3 separate regions of the Homo sapiens genome follow, and regions 2 and 3 are each linked to region 1. Evidence: promoter capture Hi-C in 16 types of primary human blood cells and fetal thymus (Javierre and others, 2016). All regions are on one chromosome and are shown on one strand. Each heading gives the region's core, a stretch centred on a gene start or on the middle of the fragment in contact. The rest is flanking DNA. Distances are from core to core; before and after follow the strand shown. Region 1 holds the start of RNF217 (ring finger protein 217). Region 2 overlaps TPD52L1 (TPD52 like 1). Region 3 overlaps HDDC2 (HD domain containing 2).

What was found. The method cuts DNA at HindIII sites, captures the fragments that hold promoters and counts their contacts. A CHiCAGO score of 5 or more calls a contact.
Region 2: a fragment that was not itself captured here is called in contact with the fragment with the promoter of RNF217 in region 1 in 1 of 17 cell types (M1 macrophages); the score reaches 5.0 in M1 macrophages.
Region 3: a contact is called between a fragment that was not itself captured here and the fragment with the promoter of RNF217 in region 1, in 3 of 17 cell types (M0 macrophages, M2 macrophages and M1 macrophages). The highest score is 6.4, in M0 macrophages.

What each region holds. Positions count from the first base shown.
Region 1 is chr6:124,961,125-124,964,470 of GRCh38, reverse strand. It overlaps RNF217 (ring finger protein 217), which reads right to left and starts at 2,034. Exons shown (of 6, transcript NM_001286398.3): 1 at 1,045-2,034. The coding sequence starts at 1,926. It overlaps RNF217-AS1 (RNF217 antisense RNA 1), which reads left to right and starts at 1,444. Exons shown (of 7, transcript NR_026876.1): 1 at 1,444-1,648. The HindIII fragment of the contact is 3,639 bases long and covers 756-3,346 here.
Region 2 is chr6:125,264,008-125,267,228 of GRCh38, reverse strand. It overlaps TPD52L1 (TPD52 like 1), which reads right to left. Exons shown (of 7, transcript NM_003287.4): 7 at 2,822-3,221. Among named protein-coding and RNA genes, the nearest start is that of HDDC2, 36 kb to the left of the region's middle. The HindIII fragment of the contact is 1,857 bases long and covers 334-2,190 here.
Region 3 is chr6:125,293,372-125,296,578 of GRCh38, reverse strand. The region is part of intron 3 of HDDC2 (HD domain containing 2); the gene reads left to right. Among named protein-coding and RNA genes, the nearest start is that of HDDC2, 7.0 kb to the left of the region's middle. The HindIII fragment of the contact is 1,210 bases long and covers 1,286-2,495 here.

The DNA of each region.
Region 1 (3,346 bases), core at 785-3,284:
CAACATGAAGCTACCACATATGGGACTCTAAGACATTGTCCAGACAGTCTAACAAGACAAGCAGACACGAAAGAAACAACTTCAGTGCATGTAAGATAATATAAGATACTGTGAAAGTATATAAGCAGTGACTTGGAGGGTGAGGCAACGCTTCACAGAAGAGTTGGCACCTGAACACACAGGGTTTTGAAAGATGAATAGGCCTAGGACAATTGGACACAGGATCAAAGGGCATCCAGGATTGTGCAAAACACTGGCAGAAACATCACAGATTGAAAACTGCTGGAAGAACGCATTCACCGTCAGTGAAGGAAAGCTGGTCTGGTGCACTCTCAAGCTTTCCAAGAAAAAAAACCAAGTTTTCAAATAAAAGCAGAGGAGGAAAGTTTCACCAGTGCTTGTTCTGAGAAACCTCTTAGCCTCTCTTTGCTTTGTTTTGCTCTTTCTGTTTTGCTTCCCTCTTAAAGAGTGCTGGCTTAAAACCTCAGTGAAAGAAAAGTACTTCAACTTTACTGTGGAAAAAGGAAACTGAAAAGTAGGCAAAGGCCAAGGGATACATTTTTTTAAACATTCACTCTTTCCTGGAATATACAAATGAAGCAAAATTACAAATTCATGTATTATGGGTCTGAAATATTTATTCCAATTCTTTTCTCCACCAGCTCCATAAATATTTATTCTATGCCCACTGCTTGTTAGTTTCTGGGATACCAGGCCGATGAGGCAGTCTCTTCCTCTCCTCCTTTGAGCAAGCTTGTGCTTGCAATCCTGTATAAGAAATAAGAGGAGGGCAACAACTTGTATCTTGTGCCTTCTACACATGCCAACCATAGCCTGAAGTTCACAGCAAAGTTAAATTCCAGTTAAGTAAACCAGTGAGGTCATAATACACTTAAATAACAACTGAGACGTGAGAAACTAACAGAGATCCTCAGTAAGTGTGTCGGTCACCTCTTCGCGCGAGCAGGGAGATCAGATCGAGAGCAGGACCTCCTCGCCAGTGATTTGGAATGATAAATGGGGAAGAGAAGGGGGTGAAGTTACCTGGGCGCTCAGGTAGACTTTGAGGCACTCCTCGCACACGGCCTTCTTGCAGCAAGGCAGGGGCTTGATGGGCTTGTCTTCCAGGCACACCCGGCACATCAGCACCATGAGGGGCACATAGGGATCCCCTACACCGCCCAGGCCAGAGTAGGGTGGAGCTCCCAACAGGCTGGGCATGGAGAACGGCTCGGGCGCCAGGTAGAACTCCAGCTCGATGCTGCCGCCGTCGGGGGAGAGGGAATCCGTTGGGAGGGACAGTCGGGGGCTGGGGAAGGAAGAGCGGGTGCTGGGAGGGTTCAACACTGGCGGAGCCCCAGGTGGCGACGCGGGCGGCGAGAGCTGCTCCGAGGCGGGGGCCTCGGGCAGGTCGCTCTCCACGCAGTACACGGAGCAGAAGACTTGTCTCTTGGCGAGGGACGGGCGCCGCTGACCCAGCACGTCCAGGACCAGTCCGTCGGCGGCCCCCACGCGGGTCCTGGGCTCCAGCTCTTCGCCGGGGGGCGCCTCCTGCTGTTCATCCCCTCCCTCTTTTCGATCCCCAGCTTCCTCCTCTTCCTCCTCCAGCTCCAACTGCAGTGGCAAGGTCTGGGGATTGAGAGGCCCGGTGAGTGCCAGTCCCGCAGGCTGCGCCGGTGCTCGGCTCTTACTCCAGCCCGGGGGCCCCAGGCTCCTCGCGGGCTCTGGGGCGCTGGTGTCCGCGCAGCCCCAGTCGCTTCCGCAGCCACCGCCGCTCGGCTCCGCGGAGGCGGCGCGCAGCGGGGGCGCCCGGGCGCTGTCCCCCTGAGGCCTCGGGGGCTCAGGGTGGCCCGCAGTGCCACTGGCCAGGGTCTGCGACTCCTGGGGCCCGCCGCCGCCGCTCACCGTGCTCTGCTCCTCGCCCATCGCCGCCCGCGGCCCGCGCCGCCGCTGCCCATCCAGCCGCCGGGACCCCCACCCGGCGCCCGCGGGCAGCGGGGGCAGTGGCTCGGCTCGACTCGCGGCTCCGCTTCTGCTTCCGGGTCCTTCCTCCTGGGCTGGGACGCCCCAAGTCCCCTCCGGGGAGCCCGTGCTCCGAGGCTGCGGCGCGTGGGGAGCCTGGCCCGGCCCGCCGCTCCTCCTCGTACTCTGGCGCGGCGGGGCACCGCCTCGGGGGCGCCGAGGGCCGCTCGCTCTGGGCTCGGGCGCGCCCGCCCCACATGCAGCTCGGGGCGGCGCCGCAGCCCCAGCGAGCCCCAGGCGGGACAGAGGGGTCTGGGAGGAGACGGCCGTCAGTCCCGCGCCATCACCGGTCCCGGCTGCCGGACGCGCGGCCCGAGGGCGGTGGTCAAAGGGTCGAGGGGCCTGTGGCGCCGCCGCGGCGCGCACCAGGAGGTGCAGCCGGAGCGCTGGCCAGCCGCAGGGCCCCTGGGGGAGAGGCCGGAGCGGGCGACCTCCCTCTCCCCGCGCTTCACCTACAGCCCTCCTCGCCGCCCCTCACCCCACCCCTTTGGCGCACACCTCCCCACACGTACACACGCGCGCAGGCACCCGCGCACACACACACGCACACCCTGAGTGGGTGTGATCTAAGAGCTGAGATGCGCTTTCTCGCCCGGAGTTCACACTCAGCCTCAACAAAACCCTCAGAGCAGGCAGGCTCCCCTTTGGTCTCCGCATTCAGTAGAACTTCCTACAAAACTACACTCAGCTCTGGAATTAGTAAACGCTGGCTATTTAGGATGTCGAGTTCAGAGAAATAATGCTAAGGATTATGAATTCTAAATGCTGTATATTACAACTCTGTTTTTCTGCCTAGTGGAGTAGGAAGAATCTTCGAAACCCATAAATAATCGAAAAAGCACTTTCGATCTACTCCTCCAACTGGAATCCTTAGAAGAGTTGATAACTAATTTAAAATTTCTCTCTTTTTCTTCGCCTACAGTGTTCTCTTAGAAGTTTTTTTTTTTAACCCTTTTCAGCATTCCAAAATGGATAGCACAAGGTGGAAAAATGTCCTGACCTAATTAATAAACTGGATCATTAGTGGAAATCATGGGCAGTTTCATTAGCATAACCATATTTATCCTCAAAACTGTTTCCAAAACAACAATTATATGTGAGCCAGGACTTAATTATGTGTTGATCTATCTTTATTTTACAGGAAGTATTACTCACCCAGACACTGGTGTTTTAGTTCCCTAAAGCCAGTGAAAACATTTTTGGGAAGCCAGCCCTTGTTTTGTTTTTTTTCTCCTGAGAGGGAATTCAATTTACACATTCATGTAATAGCAAGGAACTGTAAAGTGTGTAGAATTTTATTTTTTAATCTCGAAGTTGTTATTGG
Region 2 (3,221 bases), core at 13-2,512, 300 kb before region 1:
ATATATAATGGATGGATATGTATTATATATATTATATATATAATGTGTGTGTACATGAATATACCCTCTGGTGTGAACTGAAAGTCAAGCAGAAATGTAGCATAAAGAATTTTACCATGCTTAGAAGTTATCAAAAGTAGCCATAAGATTTTGCCAAATATTGTTATAGTTTGAAATTACATTTGAATGCTAGGTTTGAAGAAGTTGTTTCACATTTCATATTAAGTCACTTTTCAACCTTACCACCATCTTCCTTTATCACACTACTTCCACTCAAATTGAATACTAAGTGAGAGGAGGACGATGGGGTTGATGTTGAACAACTTTAAAGCTTACACGTAATTTTGGAACAATGAACAGTGACAGAAGAGCCGTGTAGATCCCTGGGTTCCCTCTACACTGGCCACTGTGAACGGCATGGCATATCATGAAGACACATCCTAAAGCATGCACTTTGTTCTGTTTGCTATGGTTCAAGAACAGATTTCTAACAAAATGTGTAATTTAGAGTAAGATATGCAGATTGCATTGCTAAAATGACCTGCCAATAGTTGTAATCTTTTTTTGAGACAGGGTCTCATCTCTCTGTCACCCAGGCTGGAAGGCAGTGGCAAGATCTCGGCTCACTGCAGCCTCTGCCTCCCTGGTTCGAGAGATTCTCCCACCTCAGCCTCCCAAGTAGCTGGGATTACAGGGATGTGCCATCAAGCACAGCTAATTTTTGCATTTTTAGTAAAGACGGGGTTTCACCGTGTTGGCCAGGCTGGTCTCGAACTCCTGACCTCAGTTGATCCACCCACCTTGGCCTCCCAAAGTTCTGGGATTACAGGCATGAGCCACCATGCCCAGCCAATAGTTGTAATCTTTATGTGATGTGAGTTGTGAGATAAAGTAGCACTGTAAATTTACAAATATGTTCATCATAGCAACTGTGTTTAAAATGTGGTAAATCGTTAAATTTCAGAATGGCTTACTTTTTTTAAAAGCTAGTTTGTTTTGTAATCACAATTGCATCAGAATTTTTGATAATTGAAAGAATTGACGCCTGAGCCACTCGGGGATTAGGCCTGCACAGTCAAAAATCCGATTCTAGGTTGGGAGTTGTGGCTCACGCCTGTAATCCCAACACTTTGGGAGGCCAGGGCAGGTGGATCACAAGGTCAGGAGTTCAAGACCAGCCTGGCCAAGATGGTAAAATCCTGTCTCTACTAAAAATACAAAAATTAGCCAGGCGTGGTGGTAGGTGCCTGTAATCCCAGCTACTCGGGAGGCTGAGGCAGAGAATTGCTTGAACCCAGGAGGCAGAGGTTGCAGTGAGCCAAGATTGCACCACTGCACTCCAACCTGGGCAACAGGGTGAGACTCAGTCTCAAAAAAATAAATAAATAAATAAAACAAAAATCTGATTCTAACTTTGGACACCCCCTAAACCTAACTACCAACAGCTACTGTTGACCATAAGCCTTGTTGATAACATAAATGGCCAATTAACACATATTTTTATGTTATATGCATTACATGTGGTATTCTTACAATAAAGTAAGCTCTGGAAACAAAATGTTAAAAGAAAAACAACAGAGATAATATATGTACTATTCATTAAGTGGAAGCAGATGATGATAAAGGTCTTTATCCTCATTGTCTTCATGTTGAGTAGGCTGCAGAAGGGGAGAGGTTGGTATCACTGTTTCAAGGGGTGCCAGAGGCAGAAGAAAATCTGCACATAAGTGGACCCTCACAGTTCAAACTCCTGTTGTTCAAGGGTCAACTGTACATTTTCTGTGGAGGTATCCTTTCATACACACATGGTGTTGACCTGAAGTCATTTTGGTTTGTTAGTAAAAGGTTATGTCCATTGTGTGCAATTACTTTTTAGGACTTGTGAAACACTTTAAACTACTGCTTGTGAACTGAGCCTCACTAGATGTAATTGAGAAGCTCAGCAATCAGTCCCATCAGGATGATCTTGCACACCCATGGTGAGGGAGGACCAGGCAGCTCTTAGTGATGCTCCTGAAGCTAAGAGTAGGCTCACTGCCTAAACTAGGTAAGACTGCCCACCTACCAACAAGTGTTTGATTTATCTAATCTGAGTTATTCACACACATTTTATGACAAAAATAAAAAATGCTACTTATGCCATGGCCATTATGAATATCACTTCTAGGTCAGAGTGAATAATGAAAAGCTTTTAGATGAATAGAGATGATGTGCATAAGATTCTTACCAAACTAATGAAATCAGAATTTTGATGAATGGAATAAAATAAATAGCTAAAATGTGTTGGAAGCTTTAAGATATTACCACAAGTTTTCTTGATTGTTTTTCTATCCAATTCTAATATTGTGTTTTCAGATTATAAGGCTGAGACTATGGTGTGCAGAAATTGGTTGGTGAACGGAGATATTTGTTTAAAGTACCATAACTTTATCTAATACAATGCGGTGTGCTGAATATGGTAAAAAAAGAAGGTGGCAGGGAGTTTTCACAAGTTAGCCACTTCACACTCAACAGGCAGCTATAGATTGGGCACAGAGACTGAGTACTTGTGTGCTGTGGTGGGCGAGCCAGCACGGCCTGAGAACCAGCTGGGCAGGGTTGGTTTCCTGCCTCTACTTCAACCAACAGGCTGGAAGCACAAATAAGGGAGAATGCCAGCATCCCTGCTAGTGAGCTTTCTTTGTCTACATTTGTCCACTCTGGTCAAGTTTACAGCCCCATTCTCTCTGCTAAGATTCCAGGCCTCAGAGATGATGTTGTCCTGAACCACCTTGATTTTCAGTTAGGTGTACAGATTGCACAGATTGTCATGCTCCATTAATTTGAGTAGAATTTTTCAGATGTGCTTTACTTCAAAATGTCATATATATCACTTCTATTTAATAAACACAAAACATGAACAATTAGCATGCTAACAAATATGTATATATTATATGGGCTTTTTAAATAGTGATTTTTTTTAGGTTGGATGTCTATTCAGTGTGCATTTTACAAATATATCTTAAGGCTATATCTCTGCCACCTAATAACAAATATATGTTCCCATTTAGAAAAAGAAAAGAGATACATATGATATATAAGATAAAAGTTAGTGCAGAAATCTGAGTGGATTGATAAATACCAGTTATTTTCATACATGTGAACAATTTACAAACTGAAAGGGGTTGCAGAACTCTGCTTCTCCCATTTTCTAGCTATCTCTTTTTTGGATATCCTTTATC
Region 3 (3,207 bases), core at 641-3,140, 330 kb before region 1:
CTGCTGCTGGTCAGGATTTGGGAAGAGAGAAGAAAATCAGGGAGGTGAACAATTCTTTATGCAGATGGTGTTTATGAACAAGATTTGGATGTCTGAACCATGCATTAAGATAATTAAATGAGGGTTTCTTGGCTCTGAGTGGAATTTGCCTAATGAGAACCAGGAAACCTCATTTGCCCTTGCTGGCTACATCAGTGAGCCTCTAAACTAAAGTAGGAGGGAGAAAAAATACAGTGGTCCCTCAGTATCTATGGGGTATTGGTTCCAGGACCCCCATAGATAACCAAATCTGCAGATGCTGAAGATAAAATGGTGTCGTATTTGTATATCACCTGCACATACCCTTCCATATACTTTGTCATCTCTGTATTACTTATGATACCTAATATAATGCAAATGCTATGTAAATAGTTGATAACACTGTATTGTTTTTTATTTGTATCTTTTTTTTTAATTTTTTTTTTTATCTATGGTTGGTTGAATCCGTTAATGCAAAACCCACAGATATGGAGGACCAACTATACTTGATAAACCTGGAAGGCTGATTGTTTTGGAGAAAAGTAGGTATTAAGATGAAAGGGAGAATGAGGGCATAGAAGAAACAAATTTAGAAAGGAGCCAAAAGCAATACTTGTAGTCTGGCCTCATTCCTAAACATATTAACATACACTTGATATTATGCAGGTTGATAATGCAGGTTGATAAATGATGTCTGATAAGGATCACTGTGATCTAGTGAGGTGGAACTTGAAGCTGGAATATAATGGTGGCAGGTCATATTCCTTTGCAAAGGGGAAACCTTATTGAAACAGAGGGCAGAGTCGTGGTATGCCTGTGTCTGGGAGGGTTAAAGTTGCTAAAGAACTTGGAGATTACAAAGAGAATGGAACTTTATCATAGAGTAAGTATGACAAGAAGGAGAAAATGAAAAACACAGCAAACATTTATAGAGTGCTTATTATGTGGCAGATTTATAAAGTGCTTATTATGTGCCAATAATAAGCACTTTATATGTGTATTAACTGTTTAATCCCTATGATCCCTTTAGGTAGGTACCAATATTTAACCCCACTGTGTAGATGAGAAACCTGAAGGACAAAGAGGTCAAATGACTTGCTCAGGGTTCCACAGCTAGTATTAATAAATGGCGAGCCGGGTTTGAAACCCAGTCTGGATCTGGTCTTCAGTTGACTACTACACTCTTCAGCCTCATCAGTGTCTGAATGATGAATAATACCTTCCAGTTACTTGTCACAAAACTGACACAAAATATTTGCTGAAAGCTTCATTCAGCTCGGCACTTTAGGCAGATTTTTGACATATTTTGCTAACAGAGGAAGAGGCTAGGGAAGCTGTCACTCTAAATCTATGACTGAACAACAAGGTGAAACTCAGTATAGAAGTGGAAGTGTCAGGGCTCATCGCTTGCCAGGAAGGGAAAGGCTGGCATACTCAGCTGTGTACCCTGGACCTCAGCCATGTTGATTTCAGAGGGTTCAATTAAAAAGGCATGATTCTGGCATGTGCTGCCAAACAAAGAATATTAACTCTCTACAAGGTTTCAAAAATGCTATTCTGATTGTGTGATTAACAAATATCAATCAGCCTAGATTCAGAAAATCATAGTTCAGTTTCAGGAAGAGAGCAACAACGTATTTGCTGTTTTGTTTTTTAAAGAATATGGTGATTTTGAACAAAAAGAAGCCTATTAATAACTTAGTAATTGGATGTGATCACCAAAAAGCCAATTCAGTCTTACACTGCACTTAAAGGAATATAGTATCTAGCATGAGGAAGGTGATGATTCCATTTTCTTCCACCTTGGTCAGATCATACATATATCACTGTATTCAGTTCTAGGTGTGTCATTTTAAAGAGAATAAAATAGTCTCCTGTCAGAGCAGGACTTTCATGTTTGCATTCTACAGTTGAGATGTTCATATACCTGTATGTACATATGATTTAGTTCATTCTTTTCAACTGGAAGTAATTGGCAAACTTGTGTTTCTGCAATAGTGTAGAGAAAAGGAATCTATAAAGACACAGTTAATTTGTGAAAATATAAAGTATTTTCTCAAGTATTCTTGCTGAAATTTATGAAAAAGAAACAAGGGAGAATGCATGTACAACATAAGCTAAATTCCTTCCTACTAAGGGTAGTGTGATGCTACCACTCTGTAACTGAACAAGCCATTCAAGATGGTGATGTTATTTATAAGAGTGGATTGTTGACATTGGCAAATGTGGTTTGCTCTGGAAGTGGTTGTATTCTGTAACATTTTTTTTCTCCCAGTAATAAATAAATATACACACAAATGTCCAATTTTATTTTCACTGCTTTCCTGCAACTCACTATTTTATTTTATGTAAGACCTTTATATTGCCAAAAATGGTTTTTATAGCCATATTCCGTTCAAAGAGCCTAACCTCTGTGGTTAGAAGAACTGAGGCTGATTAAAAGGTATGGGATGAAGGTGGTGAAGGAATTTGAAGCTTTTTGAGAGTACTGGAGTAATTCAGAAATAAAGGAAGGATACTGGAGTAACTCATAAATAAAGGAGAAGACTGGAGGATAAGGGTAGCTCCTGGGATCTTTGAGACCAGAAAGTACAGAAAGCCTAGAAGTACAGGACACCCTCTACTCTTATTTTGTCTCTGCTTTTCATTAGGTTTTGGCTAACTCTCAACGCTTCTCCTTGTGGTGGGGAATATGGCTTCTCTCCTAGCCTCTGCTTGACAAATGCAGATGGCCCCTGAATGCCTGGTTTGAATTATAAGATTATCTCTTAGACCAGTCACTGTGGCCACAGATAGTCCAGCCCAGCGGGGTCACTGTCCACCTGTTTGACGTTGTGTTTGTGGGTTAGAGAGGAAAGCAGGAGGGATGGGTTAGGTGTGGTAGAAGAACTACAGGGAAAATTTTCAGCTTGATATAAGAAAATAATTTCTGCCAGTACTGTCTAAGGCAGCCTCTTGAGGTACTAGGCTCCCTACCAATGCACACATTTTTGGAAAGAGGATAGAACTGTTCCATGATGCTATTGAAGGGTTCAGATACTACATGGATGGTTTAGCTAATTGCCGTTTAATATCCCTTTTCAGCCTGTGAGTCTGTGAGCCTACAAAATTCTATCATGTAACTTCGTTTATGTTAATGGCAATAATCGCTCATTTGTATTGTACTTTACATCTTGCAATAAAAACATG